Linked DNA regions of Homo sapiens: region 2 is linked to region 1. The links are contacts of gene promoters, found by promoter capture Hi-C in blood cells and fetal thymus (Javierre and others, 2016). All regions are on one chromosome and are shown on one strand. Each heading gives the region's core, a stretch centred on a gene start or on the middle of the fragment in contact. The rest is flanking DNA. Distances are from core to core; before and after follow the strand shown.

The links. Contacts are between HindIII fragments. The CHiCAGO score rates a contact against its expected background, and 5 or more counts as called.
Region 2: a contact is called between a fragment that was not itself captured here and the fragment with the promoter of PRM2 in region 1, in 3 of 17 cell types (activated CD4 T cells, naive CD4 T cells and naive CD8 T cells). The highest score is 8.0, in activated CD4 T cells.

Annotation. Positions count from the first base shown.
Region 1 is chr16:11,274,095-11,279,390 of GRCh38, reverse strand. PRM2 (protamine 2) reads left to right here and starts at 2,911. Exons shown (of 2, transcript NM_002762.4): 1 at 2,911-3,291; 2 at 3,454-3,752. The coding sequence starts at 3,021. The coding sequence ends at 3,491. The region is part of intron 1 of LOC105371082 (a long non-coding RNA gene); the gene reads right to left. It also overlaps the pseudogene LOC124900380. The HindIII fragment of the contact is 881 bases long and covers 2,614-3,494 here.
Region 2 is chr16:11,100,396-11,105,691 of GRCh38, reverse strand. The region is part of intron 19 of CLEC16A (C-type lectin domain containing 16A); the gene reads right to left. Among named protein-coding and RNA genes, the nearest start is that of SOCS1, 150 kb to the left of the region's middle. RefSeq lists enhancers at 201-340, 691-740, 5,033-5,142. The HindIII fragment of the contact is 4,204 bases long and covers 330-4,533 here.

The sequences.
Region 1 (5,296 bases), core at 1,662-4,161:
CACCTCAGAAATGTCACAGTATGACTTCTGTTTATGGGACACCAACTGTGTGCCTGGTATTCTGCATACATCACTTCCTTTTTTTTTTTTTTTTGAGACAAGGTCTCTTTCTGTCACCCAGGCTAGAATAGAGTGCAGTAGCGCAAACACAGTTCACTGCAGCCTCAATCTCCTGAGCTCAAGTGATTTCCTTACCTCAGCCTCCTGGACTCCTGAGTAGCTGGGACCACAGACATGCACCACCTTGCCTGGCTAATTTTTCTAATTTTTTTGTAGAGACGAGGTCTCACTATGTTGCCCAGGCTGGTCTCAAACTCCTGGGCTCAAGCGATTCTCCTGCCTTGGCCTCCCAGAGTGCTGTGATTACAGGCATGAGCCACTGCACTCACCTACGGTGGGTATCAACAACCATGTTCTTTCAAGTGAGCACATGAGAGTTCAGTGCTAGCCCTGGCACTACCATGACCCTGATCACTTTAGCAATGACTCCCCATAACACACTCGGATCATGATAGCAGCTTGGCTGGACAGGCAGACCCCTGGGTGTGCCTTTTTTTTTTTTTTTTTTGAGATAAGGGTCTTGCTCTGTCACCCAGGCTGGAGTGCAGTGGTGTGAACGTGGCTCACTGCAGCCTTGATCTGTGCTCAAGCAATCCTCCCATCTCAGCCTCCTGAGTAGCAGGAACTACAGGCACATGCCACCATGGACCCAGGCTATTTTTTTTATTTTTTGTAGACAGAGCCCTCACTATGTTGCCCAGGGTGGTCTCAAACTCCTGGGCTCAAGTGATCTTCCCACCTCGGCCTCTCAAAGTGCTGGGATTACAGGTGTGAGCCACCACACCCAGCCCCTTCCTATGTTTATTTTATTTTATTTTATTTTTTTAGACGAAGTTTCGCCCTTGTTGCCGAGGCTGGAGCGCAATGGTGCCATCTCAGCTCACTGCAACCTCTGCCTCCTGGGTTCAAGCAATTCTCCTGCCTCAGCCTCCTGAGTAGCTGGGATTACAGGCGCCCGCCACCACTCCCGGCTAATTTTTGTATATTTAGTAGAGACAGGGTTTCACCATGTTGACTAGGCTGGTCTTGAACTTCTGACCTCAGGTGATCCACCCGCCTCAGCCTCCCAAAGTGCTACGATTACAGGTGTGAGCCACCGAGCCCTGCCCCGCCCCTTCTTATTTTCATCTGCAAGCTTTGGCCATGGAGATTTGACTTAGCGGGACGTAGGGTAAGGCCTCAGCATTCATATTTTTAACACGCGCCCTCGAAGAGCTTGAGGGCCATCATAAAGGACCTTCTTATCCCTAAAGAGAGGCAGCATAGAAACACCAAGGGCATGGCAATATCACCCATCACCTCCTGTAAGGATCTGAAGATTAAGCCTCCTGAATTTGTTTCTTATTGCCACTGTGACAGATCATCACAAATTTTGTAGCTTTAAACAACATAAATGCATTATCTTACAGGTCTGCAGGTCAGAATTCTGAAAGAAGTCTCATGGGGCTAAAATCAAGGGGTCAGCAGGGCTGTGTTCCTCCTGGATGCACGAGGGGAGGATAACCCATTTCCTTGTCCATCCCAGCTTCTAGAGGCCGCCTGCATCCCTTGGCTTATAGCCTCTCCCTCCATCTTCAAAGCCAGCAGTGTGGTGTCTCCCAGTTTCTCTTCCTGTGACCCTCCTGCCTCCCTATTCTCTCTTCTAAGGACCCTCGTGACTGCACTGGGCCAACCCAGATCATCTGGGATGATCTCTGCATCTTCAAGTCCTTAAATTTGTGTATCTGCCACATTCCCACATTCTCCCTGCCCTCCATGAAAGGGAAACTGGTTTTGCAGTTTCTGTGATTCTGATCCCGGACTTTAATGGGATCATCAAAGTTCAATGAGAAGCCCCGGCAAGGCCGAGCGGGAGGGGAGAAGATGAATATTTTGGAGGCGGAGAGGGGAGCATTCCCTGGGCTAGGGAGGAGGTGGAGAGCCAAGGGTATGACTAAAACCAGGCTGTCTCCGTCTGAATGCTGGCCCGGCCTGGCCTTCTCAGCAGAGTGGCCTTGAGCAACTCAACTTCTTCATGCCTGTTTGCCCCACAGAAAATGAGGATTGTAAGAGTGAGGAATGCAAGGGTGGTGGCTCACACCTGTAATCCCAGCACTCTGGGAGGCCGACATGGGAGGCTCACTGAGGCCAGGAGTGTGAGACCAGCCAGGGCAACATGGTGAAACCCTATCTATCTCCACAAAAAATACAAAAAATTAGCTGGGAGTGGCAGCACACGCCTATAGTCCCAGCTACTCGGGAGGCTGAGGTGGCAGGATCATCTGAGCTGGAGGGGTAGAGGCTGCTATGATCCATGATTGCACAACTGCACTCCAGCCTGGGCGACAGACAGTGCCTCAAAACAAAAAGAGGAGAGAGAGAGAGAGAGAGAGAGAGAGAGAGAATGAGTGAATGTATGGGAAATAAATGAATCAATGCTTGGCACATAGGAGCTATTAGGGAACTGTTTGCTGCTGTTGCCATCTTAACAGTAAGCTGTGTGCACAGAGATCCAAGCACGGAAGTCCCTTCCACATGGTGGCTGTGGCACAGCAGTGAGTTGGCAAGGAAGCTTCCAAATGACAATGTGCGCACCCACCGGCTTGGGGAGATGAGGGCTTGGATTAGGCAATAAAACACCTGCCATCTGTATGGTTCACCTACTGCAAGAGACAGAGGACATGCTTTACAGGCAAGGCAAGGGGGTCTCTCGCCCTTCCAGCCCTGCAGCTTGGGTGCCAGGGCCCTGCTAGTTGTGACCCCTGGCCCTGTGCTGCCCTCACAGAGGAGGCTGGGCAGGGTGGGGACTGGGCGGGGCCGCAGAGTCATAGTGGGCGCCCCCTTTATATACAAGCTCCCGGGGAGCCTTGCAGACCAGACCAACAGTAACACCAAGGGCAGGTGGGCAGGCCTCCGCCCTCCTCCCCTACTCCAGGGCCCACTGCAGCCTCAGCCCAGGAGCCACCAGATCTCCCAACACCATGGTCCGATACCGCGTGAGGAGCCTGAGCGAACGCTCGCACGAGGTGTACAGGCAGCAGTTGCATGGGCAAGAGCAAGGACACCACGGCCAAGAGGAGCAAGGGCTGAGCCCGGAGCACGTCGAGGTCTACGAGAGGACCCATGGCCAGTCTCACTATAGGCGCAGACACTGCTCTCGAAGGAGGCTGCACCGGATCCACAGGCGGCAGCATCGCTCCTGCAGAAGGCGCAAAAGACGCTCCTGCAGGCACCGGAGGAGGCATCGCAGAGGTCTGCCTGCGCCCCCGCCTTGCCCTGCATGTCCCTGACCACCCCAGGCACAGGAGGGAGGCGGGGACCCACCCCACCTGACAAAAGCTCCAGCCCCCTAACCCCCGTCCCCACCCAGAGTCCCTAGGTGACCCCCTCAACCAGAACTTTCTTTCCCAAAAGGCTGCAGAACCAGGAAGAGAACATGCAGAAGGCACTAAGCTTCCTGGGCCCCTCACCCCCAGCTGGAAATTAAGAAAAAGTCGCCCGAAACACCAAGTGAGGCCATAGCAATTCCCCTACATCAAATGCTCAAGCCCCCAGCTGGAAGTTAAGAGAAAGTCACCTGCCCAAGAAACACCGAGTGAGGCCATAGCAACTCCCCTACATCAAATGCTCAAGCCCTGAGTTGCCGCCGAGAAGCCCACAAGATCTGAGTGAAACGAGCAAAAGTCACCTGCCCAATAAAGCTTGACAAGACACTCGCTGGCCTGTCGGGTTTTCTTTGCACGAATCACACAAACCTGGCTTCCCTCACGCCCAGGGCGGGTAGAGGCTTCTCTGCAGCCCTTCCTCAGAGGCAGGTAGGGCGGGAGTTCTGATGCTCTCAGGACACCTAGGAGAGGGTTACTGTGCCTGGGAGGCCACCCTATGATGCTGTCCTGTCTATTGTGCATCCTTCCATGGTGTCAAAGGCCACATTAGTCTGTCTGGATCCCCCTCCAGTGAAGAACCTGATCCTACCTCATGAAAGGAGAAAATGGTTAGAACAGATCGAGTCCTAATTAAGTCACAAAGATGCCAAGGCACCTTGTGGCCATATTTAAATGCCTACTGTGTGCCACAGTTTAAAAACACAACCCATCTTGAGTGTTGGGTGGTTGGAAGTGTAAACGGTGGGGGCAGAGGTGGGGGCACTGCTCAGTGCAGGCCACAGCTTCGAGGTGGGAAACAGGTCTGGCATGCTCCAGCAACAACTTGGTCAGCACAGAGACGGCAAAAGGCAAGGAGTAGATGAATGCAGAGTAATGGGCTGCGCTGTGTGAGGCCTGTGCTGGCTGAAGCCTCTGGAGACCCAGGCAGAATCCGATCCTTGTTGCCTGCTCTCCTCGGCCTGTGGCTGCATCACTCCTCCCTCCTGTCTGAAATCAAGGACCCTTGTGATTGCACTGAGGGACTTTCTGGACAACCCAAGATAACCTCCCCATCTCACAATCCTTACATCATAGATTCCAGGATCAGGAAGGGGGCACTTCGGAGAGTGCCAACCTTAGCCAACCATAGCCACTGAGGACTGGGGGGATAAGACTGGCAAGATCCAATCCATATGTTGGCAAATGGATTTCTGGTGCTCAGAAATGACCAATCTTTAGGAAGCAACGAGTTTCTGAAAACAAAACAACAACAACAAAAAAAAAAACAGACGGAGTTTCGCTCTTGTCACTGGGGCGGTGTGCAGTGGTGCGATCTTGGCTCACTGCAACCTGCACCTCCTATGTTCAACTGATTCTCCTCCCTAACCTCCTGAGTAGCTGAAGGAGCTAAACAAATTTTTTTTTTTTTTTTTTTTTGGTATTTTTAGTAAAGACATGGTTTCACGATGTTGGCCAGGCTGGTCTCGAACTTCTGACCTCAGATGATCTGCCTGCCTCGCCTCCCAAAGTGCTGGGATTACAGGTGTGAGCCACCACGCCTGGCCTCAAAAAATTTATATTTAAAAAATACCATTGCAGTGTACAAACGACTCATTTCAATGTATAAAAGACAAAGTCCTAAACCCCCTCCCCCCATGCTGAAATTGTGCTGCACAGATGTGGAACCTTGCCAAGGGGCAGCTCCATGATGTCTTCTCTGTGGCCCCAAAACACTTAAGAGGATGTCACTCCACCCTGACCTGGGTAGAGTGGCCTCTGGTTGGTGGTGTCCATCTTGCATCAGTCAGGGACAAAGCAACCCCTTGTTCATCCCAGCTTGGTTTCTGGCCTGTTCCCATGCCTTGGACAAACAAACAATGCTTAGGAGCCAT
Region 2 (5,296 bases), core at 1,182-3,681, 170 kb after region 1:
CAATCTCAGGTACCCACAGGCTGGGGGAAGTGCTAGCTTTGGGCTCAGCTCTGTCTGCTTCCAAAGGTGGGGTTTTCCACAGCTACTTCCTTTCTCTCAGTATGAAAGGCACATGCCATGTCTAGTAAAATGAGGTGACTGGTTTTCACAGTGGCCAGGAAAACCAGTTGTGTGTCTTCATCTTTCCCCCGTGTCAAATTTTAAGACTCTTCTTGGGAGAATGGAGGATGAGAATTTTACCCTCCTTGTTCCCATGTGTCCAGAACATGTATGGGGGCAGCCTCTCTGACTGCTGAAGTCTACTTAAGGATGAGCAACTTGCAAAAGCTTCACTCCTTGTTCCTCTTCTTCAATACGTGCAGTTCACAGCTTGACAACTTGGTGAAAACACAATTACCAGAAACCGAGTCCAAGGGAGCAGCAGTTCCAAGTACAGTCTGGCATATCCCCTTATCAAGTGACACCCAGCTGCCAGAGACACGATCTCATCTTACAATGCATCGGTGACCACACTTATCTCTGCTCTCGGAATGCCACATTTGCATAGTACATTGCATAATTTCCTCTCTGAAAATGGCCCTGTTTAGCATGAGTAAATAAAATTGCCTAACTCTGTGAGGCAGCCAAATGGAATACTTGAGATTTCCAAGAAAAGATCTGAATACTTAAGCTCATTATGCAGCCAGATAAAGTCACATGGAATCTAGGTTCACACAGCTCCTCTTCCCCGCTGTTCAGCAGCCCAGCAGCCCAGGAACAAGGGTATCCTGGTCTTCGGAAGCCCTCTGTGATGGCTCTGCTCTGGACCTTCCACAGGATGTGGTCAGGGTCTCTCTACCCCATTTGTGCCTAGGGCTATGGGGCTACTGTGTGTCGGGTACTGGGCTACAGGGATGAAGAAGGCAGATGCATCCTTACACTGGGTGACCCTTCAGAGGCTGTTTCCTTATCTGAAAAATGAGGACACCCCTACTTTGTAGGAATGCTGTTGGGAACAAGTAAGCTGGGGTGCAGAGAGGGCTTGTGATTTTTCTCCACCTTCGTGGTATGGGCCCACCTCTCCTTCCTCCCTCTGGAGAGAAGTTCTTGAAGATGGGGCTACATCTTCTCTTTCCCTTGGATTTCCTCTGTAAGGCACCTCATCAGAAAAGTACACAAGGGTATTCCAGAGAGCAGATCCTGGCCCAGGGTATTCTCCTTCCTTAGGGGGTGAGGTCCCCAGGCAGAGGACATAGTCTAGAGAATATGTTAAAACCTCTGGGATATGCTGGGTGTGGTGGCATATACCTGTAATCCCATCCTTTGGGAGGCTGAGGTGGGAGGATTGCTTGAGCTCAGAGTTTGAAAACAGCCTGGGCAATATAGTGAGACCCCATCTCTATGACTCCTAGGGAGATAATTTTAATAAAAAAAAAATTAGCTGGGTATGGTGGCACATGGCTGTAGTCCCAGGTACTTGGAAGGCTGAGGCAGGAGGACTGCTTGAGCCCAGGAGGCAGAGGTTGCAGTAAGCTGAGATTGTACCACTGTACTCCAGCCTGGGCGACAGAGTGAGACCTTGTCTCAAAAAAACCCCCCAAAACAAAACTCACCTCTGGGATCTATATTACTAACACTGCTAGAGAAGGCATCTGTGGGTGCCACACACATCTGTGGGGGATCCTGGTACCCACAGATGCTGGCCAGACCTCAAGGAGCTCTTCTGGTCAAATGGATCTGAGCCTGGCATTCAAGGCTCTTCTAAGCAAGGAGGCATTCTCTCCTGCTAACATCCAACCCAGATTCTCCTCCGACATAGGCCAGTTGTGGGGAAGAAAAGGCTTCATAGATGGAACCGGTACACCCATTCATCACTGCCTCAGACTTTTCATTCAAACATTTCTGGGGGTGCTGGACTCTGCTTGGCAAAGAGGACCACAGAGATGGGTAAGACTTGTCCCTCAGGGGTTCCTGTCTAGCATGGGAGCCCAAAGAAGTGACAATTACATGCCATGGGACAAGAGCCACAGCAGGGGAAGACCAGGAGGATGTAGACTGCTGGAAGACAGGCCATGACACAGCCCAAGGGTCAGAGAAGGCTTCTTGCAGGAGGTGATTTATTTTTATTTTTTTGAGACGGAGTTTTGTTGTGTTGCCCAGGCTGGAGTGCAATGGCGCATTCCTGGCTTATTGCAACCTCCACCTGCCAGGTTCAAGTGATTCCCCTGTGTCAGCCACCTGAGTAGCTAGGACAACAGGCATGCGCCACCACGCCTGGCTAATTTTTGTATTTTCAGTAGAGACAGGGTTTCACCATGTTGGCCAGGCTGGTCTCAAACCCCTGATCTCAGGTGATCCGCCCACCTCAGCCTCCCAAAGTGCTGGGATTACAGGAGTGAGCCCTGTGCCCAGTCAGGAGGTAATGTTTTAAATTGATCTTGAAAGAAGCCCAGCAATGGGCCAAGCAGAGGTGGAGAGCAGCGCCACTGGGCCTCTCTGGGGGGACTGCTGGCTCCTCCCCAGCATATTCTTGGATCTGACCCTTGTGGGCCCAGCACTAGCCTCCCATTTTCCACCAAACCTCTGGGGTTTGAGGCTCTTCACCTCATTTCCGCCAGAAGGTCCGGGGAGCATTCGCTTGCCCATCTCTCAGGCCCTCCCTCTGTGTCTGTCCCTGAGTTTCAGCCTCCAGGGACAGTTCAGCCTTGTGGTGAAGGCACAGTGAGGACCAGGCCGCCTGCTGCTTTAGACTGAGCTCTGCCCCTTACCAGTGTGGGACCTCGGCTTGTTGCCGTCTCCCCTCTGGCCCTCAGGTACCTCATCAGCAAATAGAGGTGATATTAACAATACTGTCCCTATAGTGTTACTATGAAAACTCAATGATGTTTGTAAGGTGCTAGGATAGTGCCTGGCACTTAGGAGTAACAGCAGCTCTCTGAGTTCCACCCAGCAAGAACCAGCAGGATTTGGTGGGGAGAACACTGAGCTGAGATGGAGAAGGGGCCTGGGTCTGATGCCCAGTGGGGCCACTTACTAGGCTGTGTGGCCTCAGTCAGGGCAACCGACCTTTCCAGGTGGACCTCAGCTTCCTTGTCACTCAAATGAAGCGGTTGGGACTAAACCACATGCCTCTTTTCTGATGGGAAAGAATGTCTAAATTTCATACCAGGGGACACATTTATAGCCGTTTGGCAGAAATTAGTTCACAGAGTGAATGCTTACCGGCACAGCAGTCTGATTTTTAATTAGCTTGTGGGAATTCAATATACTTCAAACATTAACAGTAAAATATAGGAGACCTCTGGTGGAGACAAGCTGTACCTTTGGACTTAAACAAAAGCGTATACCTCACAAACCAAATTCCCTGCTTTACGTTTTTAATCTTTTGTGTTCAAACTGATTACTAATAAACTTTGGGCAGCAGAGCAACATTCTGGAAGCATGTGATTTAAGTGAAACGCAATCTTATCAGCACAGCTGTGTGTAATACAATACCACACCCCCAATCAGATGGCCTTATTTAAACTACGTTTCAGCCATGGTAAAAATGGAGAATCTCAAACTATTTTTCCCTCTGAGTTTTTAATTCTTTTAAAAATGAACTAGGTGCGGTGGCTCACACCTATAATCCCAACACTTTGGGAGGCTGAGGTAGGCAGATTGCTCAAGCCCAAGAGTTTGAGACCAGCCTAGGCAACATGGCAAGACCGTGTCCCTACAAAAAAAAAAAAAAAAAGCAAAAATTATCTGGATGTGGTGGTGTGCACCTGTGGTCCCAGCTACTCGGGGGGCTGAGGTGGGAGGATCACTTGAGCCTAGGGAGGTCAAAGCTACAGTGACCATAATTGCATCACTGCACTCCAACTTGGGCAACAGAAGGATACCCTGTTTCAAAAAAAAAAGAAAAGAAAAGAAAAGAAAAAAATGAACTTGTACACGAACTACTTATGAAATTCATGAAGGGCAAAATAAAAAAGGGAGCTCCATTCATTCAAGAAACTTTTATGGAGTATCTTCTAGAACATTAGTTCTATGAGGGCAAGGATTTTTGTCATTTTTGTTCACTGCTCATGGCCAGGCACACGGTATGTGCTCACTAGACGTCTGTGGAGAGGAGGGATGCCTACCTTGGACATCCAAGGTGTTGGAGAGACAAGATAAAAGGCTCAGTCCCTGCTCTGTAGGACCTCACAGCCCAGTAGGGAGAAAACAGAATGAACAAGACACGCAGAGTGTGACACGCAGAGTGCGACAGTCAAGGACATGCAGGGAAGGGGCATGTACCATGGGCCAGAGGCAGGAGGGAACATGGTGAGTTTGGGAAACTCCTGTCCTTTGTTGGGGCTGGGATATGAGGAAGAGGGCAGTGAGGACTGTTGGGGGTGAGGCTGCGGAGGGTGGGGACCCATCAACAAGGGTGGCTTATTAAAGCCACACCTAGGACTATAAATAGTTGCCCAGGAACTGGGGACACTAGGAAGATCACTGCGAGAACTGAAGGTTTTTGCCTATCATTATTCAGTGAAATGTAACTCAGGCCCTTAATTGGAAGCTTATAATGAAGACCTGGACTGGAACTTAAAATATAACACGAACAAAGAGTTTACTAAGCATATTAAGAAAAAATAACATGACATTTGTTCCTTTATTTATTAATTCATCAAACAGTTACTGTGTATCTACTATGGGCCAAGCACAGTCCCAGGTACTAGGGCTGCAGGGCTGAAAATGAAGGTCTGGCCCTCACGCAGCCACAGTCTCAACAGACAGACCATAAAGCAGTAACTGAAAGAAATCTGTGAGTATAAACTGTACCAGCACAATGGAAAGGTATATTCAACCCGTTACAGACTTTGTTTAAAAGTTCATCTGCAAACCCTGCAAATAAACTCTTCAAAAGTTCCAGCCACTTGCAAACATATACCCATGCTAATTTCAGATACTAACAGTTACAGTGTAATATTTAATAAGCATCTGACACTGAGCTAAGCACTCAAAACCACCCAGCCCAGGCAGTACCATTATCTGCACATTACACATGAGAAAGCTGAGACCCTGAGAGGGTCAGTAACTGACTTGAGGTTGTGCTGCTAATGTTATCTTCCGGGAGGTCAATTCCCAGGACCCCAAGCAGGAAATGCCCAAGTGAGTCAGGTCCAAGTCCCTCCATGTGCTTGAAACCAAACCCCAATCTTGTAAAAAGATTCTCTGGGCCACACTAAGTTAGTGAAATCTGGACCAGAAGGGTAAACCACATTTGGCTGCCTGTGCTAAGAAAGAGATCAGCAGCTTTCACAGCAGGAGCAGGGGTGACTTC